Regions from separate parts of the Homo sapiens genome. Here regions 1 and 2 are each linked to region 3. Evidence: promoter capture Hi-C in 16 types of primary human blood cells and fetal thymus (Javierre and others, 2016). All regions are on one chromosome and are shown on one strand. Each heading gives the region's core, a stretch centred on a gene start or on the middle of the fragment in contact. The rest is flanking DNA. Distances are from core to core; before and after follow the strand shown.

The links. Contacts are between HindIII fragments. The CHiCAGO score rates a contact against its expected background, and 5 or more counts as called.
Region 1: a fragment that was not itself captured here is called in contact with the fragment with the promoter of KLK4 in region 3 in 1 of 17 cell types (non-activated CD4 T cells); the score reaches 5.1 in non-activated CD4 T cells.
Region 2: a contact is called between a fragment that was not itself captured here and the fragment with the promoter of KLK4 in region 3, in 1 of 17 cell types (non-activated CD4 T cells). The highest score is 5.0, in non-activated CD4 T cells.

Annotation. Positions count from the first base shown.
Region 1 is chr19:51,205,713-51,210,541 of GRCh38, forward strand. It overlaps MIR8074 (microRNA 8074), which reads right to left and starts at 1,297; the gene lies at 1,217-1,297. All of the region lies in intron 2 of LOC107985327 (a long non-coding RNA gene), which reads right to left. It overlaps LOC124904751 (a long non-coding RNA gene), which reads right to left. Exons shown (of 3, transcript XR_007067311.1): 3 at 4,329-4,829. The HindIII fragment of the contact is 4,167 bases long and covers 378-4,544 here.
Region 2 is chr19:51,258,295-51,262,898 of GRCh38, forward strand. All of the region lies in intron 1 of SIGLECL1 (SIGLEC family like 1), which reads left to right. The region is part of intron 2 of LOC107985327 (a long non-coding RNA gene); the gene reads right to left. Among named protein-coding and RNA genes, the nearest start is that of SIGLECL1, 9.5 kb to the left of the region's middle. The HindIII fragment of the contact is 2,356 bases long and covers 1,198-3,553 here.
Region 3 is chr19:50,909,575-50,913,852 of GRCh38, forward strand. It overlaps KLK4 (kallikrein related peptidase 4), which reads right to left and starts at 1,821. Exons shown (of 6, transcript NM_004917.5): 1 at 1,765-1,821; 2 at 1,104-1,175. The coding sequence starts at 1,164. The HindIII fragment of the contact is 22,926 bases long and covers 1-4,278 here.

The sequences.
Region 1 (4,829 bases), core at 1,211-3,710, 300 kb after region 3:
TCACAAATTACCTAGTCTCAGGTATTTCTTTATAGCAATGCAAGAACAGACTAATACAGTTATCATATTGACTAGCAATTTCACTCCTTGGGATATACCCAAAGGAATTGGAAACAGATATTCAAATGAAAATCTGTACATAAATTTTCATGGCAGCACTACTACTCACATGAGCCAAAAAGTACAAACAACTAAAATGCCCAGTAACTGACAAATGGATAAATGGAATGTGGTCTTTCCATGCAATGGGATATCACTCAGTCCAAAAAAAGAAATGAAATAATGATGCATGCTACAACAAGGATTATCCTCGTAAACATGGATTTACCTTGAAAACATTACCCTTGGTAAAAGAAGCCAGACATGGAAACTCATCAAGCTTAGTAGGCCATTTAGAGAAAACCCACAGGTAACATTACACTCAATGATGAAAGACTGAAATTATTCCATTCACATTAAATATCCAGCATAGATAAATCCATGGAAATAGGTACACGTTAGTAGTTTCCAGGGGCTCTGGGAAGCAGGCAATAGAAAGTGACTGTTTCCCTTTCAGGGTGATAAAAATGTTCAGAAACTAGATGGTGGTGATGATTACACAGCACTGTGAATGCAATAAATGCCACTGAATTTTATACTTTTTCTTTTTTTTGAGACAGAGTTTCACTCTGTCACCCAGGCTAGAGTAGAACGGTGCGATCTCAGCTCACTGCAACCTCCGCCTCCTGGATTCAAGCAATTCTCATGCCTCCATCTCCTGAGTAGCTGAGATTACAGGCACCCACCACTATGCCCAGCTAGTTTTTTGTATTTTTAGTAGAGATGGGGTTTCACCATGTTGCCCAGGCTGGTCTTGAACTCCTGAGCTCAGGCGATCCGTCTGCCTTGGCCTCCCGAAATGCTGGGATTACAGACGTGAGACACCGGGCCCAGCCTGAATGTTATACTTTAAATTAGCAAATGGAAGAAATTCTTTTCTGATTTTCAAATATTACTGAAATTTTAAAGAAACAGCAGAGATGCTCAGGGTGAAGCAAGTGCTTACTGTGTGAATCCATTTATAGGAAGTTGTAAAACATGTAAAACTAGTTGATGGTGACAAATGTCAGAACACTGGTTGCTTCTCAGACTGTATGTGGAGGCAGAGATTAATATGGAAGGGCATGAAGGATGCTGTTTTCTCTGGTCAAAGAATGACCCTTATCTTGAGAGGGTTTCAGTTGTGTGAGTACATGCCAGTCTCGCCATAGGACGTCTCTGGGCTCCCATGGGCATCTTGCATAAACTCAGGAACTGGGTTCTTCTATTCTCTGCTGCCTCCCACCACCCTACTCTCAGAAGATACCTTGATTCTGGCTTAAGAGGAAATAAACACAGTGTAGTGATAGAGACCCTTTCCTGACTATAAAACTATTCACCTCATTGCAGCTGCTACCATCCCTCCTTCAACTTGGTTGTTCCATCTTACCTTGAAAAGTGACTTATGGAACAACTTGTCCAAACGTCTCCACTTTAGAGGGACACCAGTTTCCTGTGTAATTATGTTGATTGCAATGAAATACTCCTAAGAGAGGGCTGACATTCCTGCTTCCAATCAGAAAATGAGGTCATTAGGCAAACGTCCAGCAGAGAGAGTAATTAGAAAAGATGAAAACATGCATTCCAATCTATTCTGTTCTTATTATGTTTTTTTTTTTTTTTTTGAGATGGAGTCTTACTCTGTCACCCAGTTGGAGTGCAGTGGCATGATCTTGGTCACAGCGATCTTCACCTCCCAGGTTCAAGCGATCCTCCTTGCCTCAGCCTCCTGAGTAGCTGGGACTACAGGCACCCACCATCACACCTGGCTAATTTTTGTATTTTTAGTAGAGATGGGGTTTCACCATGTTGGCCAGGCTGGCCTCGAACTCCTGACCTCAGGTGATCCACTTGCCTTGGCCCTTCAAAATGCTGGGATTACAGGCATGAGCCACTGCGCCCAGCCTATGTTCTTCTGGCTGGACTGGAGGACAGTAAGGAAACAGGGCAGGGCTGATGCTTTCCAAACACAGTGGGACATAGTCCTCAGGTCAGCAGCGAGCAGGGGATGGGAACCCACCTCATCTCACTAACCCTAGCTGCCATCAGTAGAACAAAAAGTCATTAATAAAATCCAAATCCTGGAACAGCTTCAAGGAAACAAATGTCAACATTGACCAAGTCAATAAACATGTCAGTGTCTTCTGGCCAGAGATCAGCAGGCACCAGGAATAGATATGTAGTTGGGTTATTACTCATTGCAGTGAGGAACCACGAAAACCATGAGGTGTTTCAGTAAGAGAGAATTATAACTGGCTTATTATAGGATTTGGACTTGTGTTAGGTGATTTGGGGAAACTTTTTAAAAAGCAGTGTTTGCTTCTTTGGATGTCAGGAAGTCAGCATAATTCTAACACTGGATCTTCATACATCTAATAAAAAAGGAGAAAGAACTAGACCAAAGCTACCTTAGTCAGTTTGGGCTAGAATAAGAGATATCACAGACCGGCTAGCTTAAAAAACAAACATCTAACTTTGGGAGGCCAAGGTGGGTGGATCACAAGGTCAGGAGATCGAGACCATCCTGGCTAACACGGTGAAACCCCGTCTCTATTAAAAATATAAAAAATTAGCCGGGCGTGGTGGCGGACTCCTGTAGTCCCAGCTACTCGGGAGGCTGAGGCAGGAGAATGGTGTGAACCCAGGAGGCGGAGCTTGCAGTGAGCCAAGATCGTGCCACTGCACTCCAGCCTGGGTGACAGAACAAGACTCTGTCTCAAAAAACAAACAAACAAACAAAAAACAAACATCTATTTCTCATAGTTCTGGAGGCTGGAAGACCAAAATAAAGATGTCAGTACAACTGGGTTCTTAGTGAGGTCCCCGCTCCTGGGTCACAGATGACTGCCTTCTCACTATATCCTCACATGGGAGAGAGAGAGCTCTGGTCCCTTCCTCATTCTTACAAGTGCCATAATCCCAGCATGGGCATTCCACTTCCATGAGCTCACCTAAATCCCATTATCTCCTAAAGGCCCCACCTCCAAATATCATCACATCACATTAAGAATTAGGACATCAATACATGAATTTTAGGGTGACACCAACATTTAGTCTATAGGAAAGGCTGTGGCTGTAATTGGTAAATAATCATCAGTCTTTCCTGTTACCCTAGATGGGAAATATGTAGCCATTTTCCAATTTGGACAACATTCTTGTTTGTGTCTGTGTTAAGGCATGACTGTGCTGTGGTCTTATTCTTGTCTTGATCCATTATGCTCAAAGAATGTCCTTGTCTGGTGTTGATGTCCTGTGCAGTGATTGACAACAGGACAGGAGAATTGCTTGAACACGGAGACAGAAGCTGCAGTGAGCTGAGATGGTGCCATGGCACTCCAGCCTGGGTGACAGAGCGAGACTTCATATATATAAATCACGCCACTGCACTCCAGCCTGGCAACAGAGCAAAACTCCATCTCAACAGCCACAACAACAACAAAAGTCTATAAAAAGACTTACACCTGAGTACCATTAGTGAAAAATGGGGAAATCTCAAATGCCTATCAATAGATGAATAAATATAGGACTATAGTATATTCATACAATGGGATACTACTGAGCAATATCACACTGTGAAAACTATAGGCACAAACAACTTGGTTCAGTTTCAAAAAATATGCTGAGTGACAGAATACAGACACAGATGAGTACATTCCTTCCTAGGAAATTTTGAAATAGGCAAAAGCGACACACTATGAGAGAGAGGATCTCAGTGGTTGCCTGGCACAAGAAGTGGGAATGATGAACTGCAAAGAGGTTAGGCAAAGCCCTTGGTGTAGTGGAAATGTTGTATATCTTGATTGTGCCAGTCACAACAGGGCTGTATGCACCTGTCAAAATTCATGAAAATGAACACTTCAAGTGGGTGCACATCACCTCATGTAAATTATACCTAGTTAAGTTCATTAAAGAAACACAGTAAGACAGATTTTCTTATGTATCCTTCTACTCCATGAATGTGGTATGATATTTTACTGTTAAAAGTAAATATACTGAATATTATATTATGTGCCTATACTATCTTTTAAAATAACTTACAGCAAGATATTGTTTTATCTATTGAGGACTCACTTCCTTATATTTAAAAAGAGGATGGAAATACCTCTCTATGGTAGGTAGGATGAATGAACATTTTTATAGATACTACTGTGTATAGAGATTTTACCTGTATATGGTTGCAAATACTGATATGTCTCAGGCATTGAGGATCTCCCAGGTGTGTACCACAGAGAGTAAAATAAAAAACCATATGAGCTGAAGCTAAATTTTAATTTTGTCTGTACATTCAACTCATATTGTCTGGAAACATTATGTCTTTGGGCCTCATTTAATTATCAGAAATGTATTTTTACATGAAAGAAAATGCTAATCTCTATGGTAAGCCCCATAAAAAAATTGCTGCTGTCCCCACTGCAGGGAATGGCAACACTAATGGAAAAGAAATTTCTTCTGGACTTGTTCACAGAAGCTTTCGTTTTACATGAAAATACTACATGTTTCTTATTTTAGAGATGTCGCTGAAACATTGCAAATCAGTGTACTAACTGCCAGGGGAAAAAATCCATAGTCATACTTCTTAAAAATACCTCATATGATACCATGACATATGGCAAAGTCACCAGCATCCACAGCTGTGAAGCCAAACAGTATTTGTGTGTGGTGAACATGAGGCTATGGATGGGGAGTATCTAAAGGGGAGGGACCAGGTCAGTGGCATCTCTTCTTGTCTCCAGCCTCATTGGCACATAGAT
Region 2 (4,604 bases), core at 1,126-3,625, 350 kb after region 3:
CACTAGAACAGCCCTGACTCACTGAAACATATGGTTTGAAAAGAGGAAGGATGTGAAGTCAAGATGATAAGCCTTTGATTCCTGGGCTGTCCTGCGGTCACCTGTGCGTATAGAAATGCAGCTGTTCTGCAAACAGTTACAGGAGGTAAAAGTTACCATTGCTTTTTCAATACAATGGATCCAACCCCCAAGGAGCTGACCCACTGGATGCATAAGGAAACAAACTAAATAGGCAGTCCCTTGGCTATTTTTATCTGTAATCGTTAAAATGAAAGTGGCTGAGGCGGATCCTGATGCTGGCCCAATCTTGGGCTCTGGCCAGCCTGAGCTACAGCTGCTAGCCTCAGGGCTGTGGCTAAAGGGAAAAGTTAGGCTGAAATGACAGATGGCAAAGAAAATTAGAGTGGTTCACCAGAGAGTGAGAAAAGACGAACATTTCCAAGAGGGTGGAAATCTTTATAAACAGTTATTAAGAAATGAGATGAGTTAAGTGGACATTGAGGGAGTCTAAACAAAGGTCTCAGTGGAGCACTCTTAGAAATTAGGTGGAGCAGTGAGAACCTAGACTTGCCCTCCAGTGTTGAAGGTCCCCCATCAAGTCTGCTATATTTACCCTAGTTTGGAGGAATTTTAGAAGCCAGAAGGCAAACATGACAATGGGAAATCTGACCTCAGATCTCCTGAGGGGACGAACATGTGATCTAATCAAGATAAATGACAAAAGGGCCTGGGTTGCTTGGCCTGACCCCTAACTGAAGACCCAAAGTCATATGCATATTAGTAGTAAAATAGTCAGGGGATGGATAAGAGATATTTCTGGGACTCATGTGGGAGTCTTATACCTGCATTCCAAAAGGTTGGTGAAATTCTAATAGCATCTATGGTTAGATTGCGAAGACATAGGATTACAAAGTGGATGAGATTCAGGCGAAACTTTGGATGAAAATTGGAATGTTTGGACAGACTATGTAAATATGTTATGTGAATGTATTTACCTAAATGTATTATGAGGAAAGATATTGTGTCCAACTATGGAAGAGTTCCCCTACGTACTATTATGAAACAGAAGGCATGTAAATCTTCCCTTCAACCAATATTGATTGAATATGCTAAATAGGAACCAATAAGATTGCCCAAGCCCACACTAATTGTTAATTTGAAACAGTACAGGATATCTGGTGGACAAAACATGTTAGAAGCTTAACGTTTGCTTTATTTAGGCAGACTGGAGCTAAGGCCAGTGAGCACCACCCAGTGGTGAATGCTGGGATTTGGGGCCAGAAAATTTCCAATGGAGAGACAACTAGCTGCCTATTGGGCTTTGAGTCTGCCCCATCATTGAAGGATATAATAATCCTGACACCTGAAATCCTCATGATGTGTTTGTCATGTTGGAAAAACACTGTAGTAAGGAAGGCCATGCCCAAAAGAGTCTCGTAATAAAATGGAAATTGTTTATACAGGAACATGCTACCAGGGAAATGCAAGGAGGTCCTCGTTATATTTATGAACAGGTGGCTTTTTCCCTACTGAAGAGCTGCGAGATCCTATTATTACTTGAATGATGTCTATTAATAGCTCTTGATTGACCAACTAAGAGCGGTTTGATTTATGGATGGCAATTCCAAAGTGAATTAATAACATCCTGTTTGGAAGACTGGCACTCATACTGAGGAAGGCAAAAACAAGTCACTTCAGTGGGCTGAACTGCCTCCACATTTGGGTTTTTACCAATTCATGGGCAGTGGCCAATGGCCTGGCCATATGGTCAGGCAGATGGGCAATGGGAAACTGTACTATTAAAAGGATGCCTATATAGGGTACAGCCTTATGGAATTCACTATAGCCAGTATCTCAAAAGACCTGTTCATACCCCCTACAAATGATAAAATAAACAGAGAAACAGACCTCTTCCTCCCAAAAAGGCAATTAATATCCTACCTTTTATGCTGGACATTTCTTGGCAACTTTTAAAGGATTTTTACTACTTGTGTGTGCGTTCTTAAACACTTGATTTTGCCCGGTTTTTTTCAAATTTTAAAGAAATGCTCATACATTATTACTTATTTGTGTCTGGCTTTGTTCATTCAATATTTTATTTGTAAGAATGGTCCATGTTGTTGCATCTAGCATTAGCTCATAGGTTTTTGTTGCTGTGTAGTATCTCATTTTTTAAAATTCTCTGTTTACTGGCATTTGGATTGTTTACCTTTTTAGCTATTTTTAAATAATACCACTGTAAACATTTTTGCATTCCTTTGTGGCGTACATATGCACAAACATTTCTATAAAGTATACATCTGGGAGTGGAATTGAGGGTCATAGAGTATGTGTATCTTCTGCTTTGATAAATAACTTTGTTGCCCTGATTTATATTTCCACCAATAGTGTGTGAAAGTTGAGTACCACATTCTCACCAAGACTTGATATATTGTCTTGGATATGTACTGGTATCTGATGGTTTTAACAGGCATTTTGCTGGTTATTAATGAGATTTTAAATATTTTCATGGAAATTTTATTAAGATTTGTCTTATGATCCAGCTGTGGCCAATTTCTGTAAACGTTCTCTGTGTGCTTACAAAGAAATTGTATTCTGCAGTTATTGATTGCAGTATTCTCTATATATTTTTGGTCAAATTTGCTGATCAAGTTGTTGAAATCTTTATATATTCCAATAGTCTGTTTGTTCTGTCAGTTTCTGAGAGAACAGTGATTAAAATGTCACACTACTATTGTGGATGTCTGTTTCTCCTTTTATTTTTGTAGATTTTTTGCTTTATATATTTTTGGACTATGTTAGTAGGCAAACACAAATTTTAAATATATACTTTATTCCTGTTAATGTCAGCTTATCATTAGGAGATATGCCATTCTATCTTTGGTAATGCCTTTTGCTTAAAGTCTGCTTTATGGGATGTTAATGTAGGTATGTCTACATTACCTGGCTTTCTGGTTGGTATTTGCTTGGTGTATGTTTTCATTCTTTGGTTTTTTCTTTTTTTCTTTTTTTGAGACGGAGTCTTGCTCTGTCGCCCAGGCTGGAGTGCAGTGGCATGATCTCGGCTCACTGCAAGCTCTGCCTCCCAGGTTCATGCCATTCTCCTGCCTCGGCCTCCTGAGTAGCTGGGATTACAGGGGCCCGCCACCACACCCAGCTAATTTTTTGTATTTTTAGTAGAGACGGGGTTTCACCGTGTTAGCCAGGATGGTCTGGATCTCCTGACCTCGTGATCCGCCCGTCTCGGCCTCCCAAAGTGCTGGGATTACAGGCATGAGCCACCGCTCCCGGCCCATTTGGTTTTTTAACTGTCCTTTACACTTATGCTTTGGTTGTGTCTTTTGTAAACAGCATGGAGTTTGGCTTTGCTTCTTTTTTCCAATATGATGATCTTAGATTCATAACTGGATAATTTAAGCCATTTATATTTAGTTAAATCACTGATGTATTGGAGTTTAAATCTAACATCTAGGTACATGATTTCTACTTGTCCCAACCGTTCTATTCTCTTTTGTATCCCTTCTGTTTGTTTCTCTGTCTTTATTTTCAAACAAGCTTTTAAATCAAAGTACAATTTTATACAGAGAAGTATTAATACAGATAGTAAGTATACAACTCAAATTATCACAAAGGGAGCAGACCAGTGTAACCACCACTGAGGTCAAGAAATAGAACATTAACAACACCCCAAACACTCCACTCATGTACTACACCATTCATTACCCCCTTTATCCTTGCTATGTTCTGGATGCAAGCACGTTGTATGTGTTGCAAGTATGTTCTCCAGCCCTGCAACTTGCATTTGTCCTCCTTAATGGTATCTTTTGATGCAGAAATTAATTCTGATACAGTCCATTTTATCCATATTTCCTCATAGCTAGTGCTTTTTGGCCCTTTTAAAGAAATATTTCCTTACCTAAAACTTACCAAGATACTCTCCTATGTTGTATTAAAGAATTCCACTGACCAATGTGGTAGCTACTAACTACATATGGCTATTGAGCCCTTATATTATGGCTAGTCTGAATTGAAGTGTGCTGTAAGTGTAAAATATATACAAGATTTTGAAGAGTGTATAAAGAATGTACCAAATCTTAACAATTTTGTGTTGATTGCATGTTGAAATATTGGGTTAGGTTCAATATGAATAACCTAGTGAATAACCTAGGTTTCTTTCACTAGGTTAAATGAAACATCATTAAAATTAATTTTACCCATTTCTTCCTTTTTAATGTGGCTGCTAGAAAATTTAAAATTATACATGTAGTCCACATTTATAGGTCACATTATATTTCTTCACACAGCACTGTTCTAGAAAAAAAGTCTAAGGACTTTCCCAATGTCCCTAGAAGTTATTTTTATGTATGACATGAGGTAGGGGTCTTATTTCCTTTTGCTGTATGGCTGTCCAGTTATTCTGACACAATTTATTCAAAAGAGAGTCCTTTAACTTCTATGCAGTGCCATATTTATCCTAAACCAAGTGATCACATATGTATAGGTATTTTTCTAACCATATAGCCTGTCCCATTGGTATTTTTATTTATCCTTGTGTCAATACCATACTCTATGAATTACTATGTATGTATGTATGTATTTTATTT
Region 3 (4,278 bases), core at 571-3,070:
TCTTGGGGGAGGGGTTACCGAGCAGGGGCGTGGTCAGGGCTTCAGGAGCAGTCAGGACTCTTGGGGGGCCGAGTCAGGGCTGGGGGCGGGCCCAGGGGGCGGACCCAGGGCTCCTGGGGGTGGGGTTATGGTGCAGGGGTCATGATCGGAGCTTCAGGGGCTGGTCCAGGATATAGGCCTAGGGCTCCCAGGGGCGGTGATCACGGTGCAGGAGCCTGGTCAGGGATTCAGGGTAGTCAGGGCTCCTGGGAGGAGAGTCAGGGCATGGGGGTGGGCTGAGAAGGCGGGATCAGTGCTCCTAGGGTTGGGGTTACAGCGCAGGGGCGCCATCAAGGCTTCAAGAGCTGGGTTATGGCTAGAGGCAGTCTCAGAAGGTGGGACCAGGGCTTCTGGGGCGGAGTCAGGGCTCTGGGGTGAGCTCTGGAGGTGAGACTGGTGCCATCGCGGTGCAAAGCCACGGTCAGGAGGGGTTCAACAGAGGAGTCTAGGCTCATAGCAGTAGGATCGGGTCCTTCGGGGTGAATTAAAGCTCAGGGGGTGGAGTTGTTGCTGGGAGCAAGGATCGGGTCACTTGTCTGCGCAGACTGATGCTCAAAGAGTCGGTCCTGCGCCGAGTCACTCCTATCCTCTCCCAGCCTTGCCCACAGTCACACCAAGCCACAAGCCCATGCACACCAAAACACCGTTTTATAGTCCTGTGAGGTGAGTTCCTTGGGGATGGGAGAGGGGGATCTCAGGACTGAAGACCCAGGAAGCAGGCACAGATTCCCAGCAATGGATCACGCCCCAGGAAGCACAATCTCCTGCACCCTCGGCTTCCCCTGTCCCCATATCATCATTACACTGTTGTCACTCCACCAGATATTCAGAGGCACAAACTGTCAGAGTCTCACAGGTACAACCACACACCCAGGCACACTGCCACACACAAATTTACCACGATACAAGGAGTTGCAGGGGCACAGCCATGGGGGACGGATAACACGGTACCGTCTCACAGGCAGCTTTGCAGTCACAAGCAAGAGGACACTGAGTCACACCTGAACATTAACAAACACTGTGCCCCCAAGCACGGACAGACACACACACGCATACTCAGATACCTGCGACACCAAGGATGAGGTACCCCAGGAACCAGCCCCAGGGATTTCCTGCTGTGGCCATCACGTCAGCACCTGGGGATGAGGACTGAGACTTAGCCGTGTCTGGGGATCTTCAGCCCAAGTCTCTCCATCCCTCTCTTTGTCCCTCCCTTTCTTCCCTCTGGGACGTTATTAGGTAGGCAAGAGCCTAGACCATCTACCCCCTCTCCCATCCATGGACCCAGAACCTAGAGAGACAGATTTAGAGACTGAGAGAGAAAAAGAGAGAGAGAGATGGGAAAAGAGAGAGAGAGAGAGAACTAGGTAGAAAGGAAAGTTTAGAGAAAGCATCTAGCCATCTGTGAATGGGGAGAGATGGTGTCTAGCCACCCACAAACAAGCATGGAGGGAAGACACACAGAGAATCAGAGCCGGAGAGACAGAGTGCTTGAGAGATATCCTCAGAGACAGTCTGAGAGTTAGACATGGAGATATAGATTCAGAGAGACAGAGAGACCCCTAACTAGAGACAGTGACTCCTAACTAGAGACAGTGAGAGATCTGTCTAGAGAGATGTGGAGACAGAAGGCACAGAGGCTGAGAATCCAGCGACATGGAGCTGTAGGGAGAGTTGGATCATGAACACTGCAGGCTTTTAGTGGGGGACCACCAGGCCTCTTACCCGGCCACCTCTGGGCTCCTGGATTCCACTGCTGGGCTGAGCTCCAGCCTGCTGCCTCCCGCAGGGGCCTCCTTGGGGCTTATAAGCATCCTCAGCCTGGGCTGGCCTGCCCCCAGGGGATGTGTTCCAGGGGTCAGGTGCTGCAAACTTCCAGCTCAACTCTCTCAGGCTGCCTCAACTCTGACCAGGCAGTGGTTGGGGGCCCAGAAGGGGCTGGCAGCAGGGTCTAGGGACCCAGGGAGGAGACCCCTGCCCAGATCCTAGACTCCACTCTCCTTTTTCTTTCTCTCTCTCTCTCTCATTCTTTCTCTTTTCATGTTCTTATTCTCTCTCATGAGATACCTCTCTCTTGCCTGTATCTCTCATTTTCTCTTTCTCTTCTTCTTTCTTTCTCTCATTCTCTCTCTCATTATTTTTCTCGTGTTTTCTTTCATTTCCTCTCATTCTCTCCTGTTCTCTCTCATGTTCTTTCTCTTTTTAAATTAAATCTCTCTCTCTCTCTCCCCTCCTCCTTCATCCCTCTCTTTCTGTGCTTCTCCAGCAAATTTCCCCAGGTTCGTATCCAGCCTACATCACGAACTATTTTTGGAACCTTGGGCAAGTGACTGCACCCCTGTGAGCCTGTTTTTCCAACTGTAAAACTGGAGTGACCATTATGCCCCATTTCCCAAGTGGATTCAAAGAGGTAATTCAGGGAAAGGCACACAGTGCCAGGCACATTGTAGGCTCTCGGTGAGCGGGAGAACTAAAAAGTCTTCGCTCAGTGAAAAGCAGCTGAGTGCCTACCACACTCCGAGCTCTGCGGCAGGTGCTGGGGCCACAGGAGGAACCAGCAAAGTCCTCGTCACTGGGGATCGCGTCCTACCCGGGGGCACAGACCATAAAGGAAAACTGCAGGGACCAGCATATAAGGTGGTGGTCGGGGAGACTCAGAGAAGGGGAACATTTAAGCTGAGATCCCAGGGAAGAGGAGGAGGAGGGTCGCCGCAGCAGGGGCGGTTGCGGGGTGCAGGGGAGAACTTGGCTCCAGCCAGAGGAGGGCAGGGCGGGTAGGAGGGCAGGGCGGGTAGGAGCGCAGACCGGGAACCGGGCGGGCCTGCAGGAGTTTACGTACCAGGATTAAGGAGCTTGGGTTTTACTTAAGTGCAATGGATTTTAAGCACGAGGATGGAGTGACATAATCTTATTTACTTTTTAAAAACTTCCAGCTTGGAGAGTGATGGTGGGGGCGGGGCGGGGGGCAGTGGCAACAGCCCAGGTGGGAGGTGACGGGGTCAAGGGAGAAGAGAGGTGAATGGACACGGGGTCCCCTCTGCATGTGGAGCCAAGTTACTGCCCGATGGATGGAAAGTGGGGGGCCAGGAGCAGAGGGGCCAAGGATGGCGTGGAGGCTTGGTCTGCTGGCTTGCGCTCTACGGATCTTGTGGAGACGCATAGGTGCGGGAAGGGGGGTGGGGGGTGAGAGGGTGCCGTAGACCGCGGAGGGTGCACGGAGGGGCAGGCCGAGGTCAGGACTGCCGAGAAACAGCGGGGACTCATCAGGGGAGAGGTGGTGTTTACAGCCACGAGGCCGGGTGAGATCATCCAAGGAGTGGGTGGGTGTAGACCGCGGAGCCGGCGCGGGTGAGGGATAGTGCCCGCAGGTGACCGCGACGAGGCAGGAATGTCTCTGTGTCTCTCTGTCTCTCCTGGGTCTCTAACACTCTTTCCTTCTCCTTCCTTACTTCTTTCCCCCACAGCCCACCCCGTGTGTCTGTCTCTCTTTCTCTCTGGCTCTCTTTTCCTCTGCCTCTCTGGTCCCATCTCTGTCTCTCTCCCCCTTGTCTCTGTTTCTCTCACCTGCCAGACTGGAAGCATCCCAAGTGAGACCCTCCCCCAACTCTGTCCTGGGCCCGTGCGCCCCCAGATAACTCTGGGCAGGACGGGACATAGGCTGGGACCACAGAACAGGAAGCCCTGGCAGGTTTCTGTCTCTGTCTCTCTTTTCCCTGTCCCTGTCCCTTTCTCTCTCTGATCCCTTCTCTCTCGCTCTCCCTCTGACCTCTGTCTGTGACCCTCTGATCTCTGTCTGTCTCTGTCTGCCCCTGTGTGTCTCTCTTTCCTCCTGTCTCTGTCTCACCTTGCCTTCTCTCTCTGTCTGTGTCTCTGCACCTGTGTCTGTCCATCTTTCTCTGTGTCTCTCTCCTCCCATCTCTGTCTCTGTCTGTGGCTCCGCACCTGTCTCTGTCCATCTTTCTCTGTGTCTCTCTCCTCCCATCTCTGTCTCTGTCTCTCTGTCTGTCTCCGCACCTGTCTGTCCATCTTTCTCTGTGTCTCTCTCCTCCCATCTCTGTCTCTGTCTCTCTGTCTGTCTCTGCACCTGTGTCTGTCCATCTTTCTCTGTGTCTCTCTCCTCCCATCTCTGTCTCTGTCTCTCTGTCTGTGTCTCCGCACCTGTGTGTCTGTCCATCTTTCTCTGTGTCTCTCTCTCCTCCCATCTCTGTCTCTGTCTCTCTGTCTGTGTCTCCGCACCTG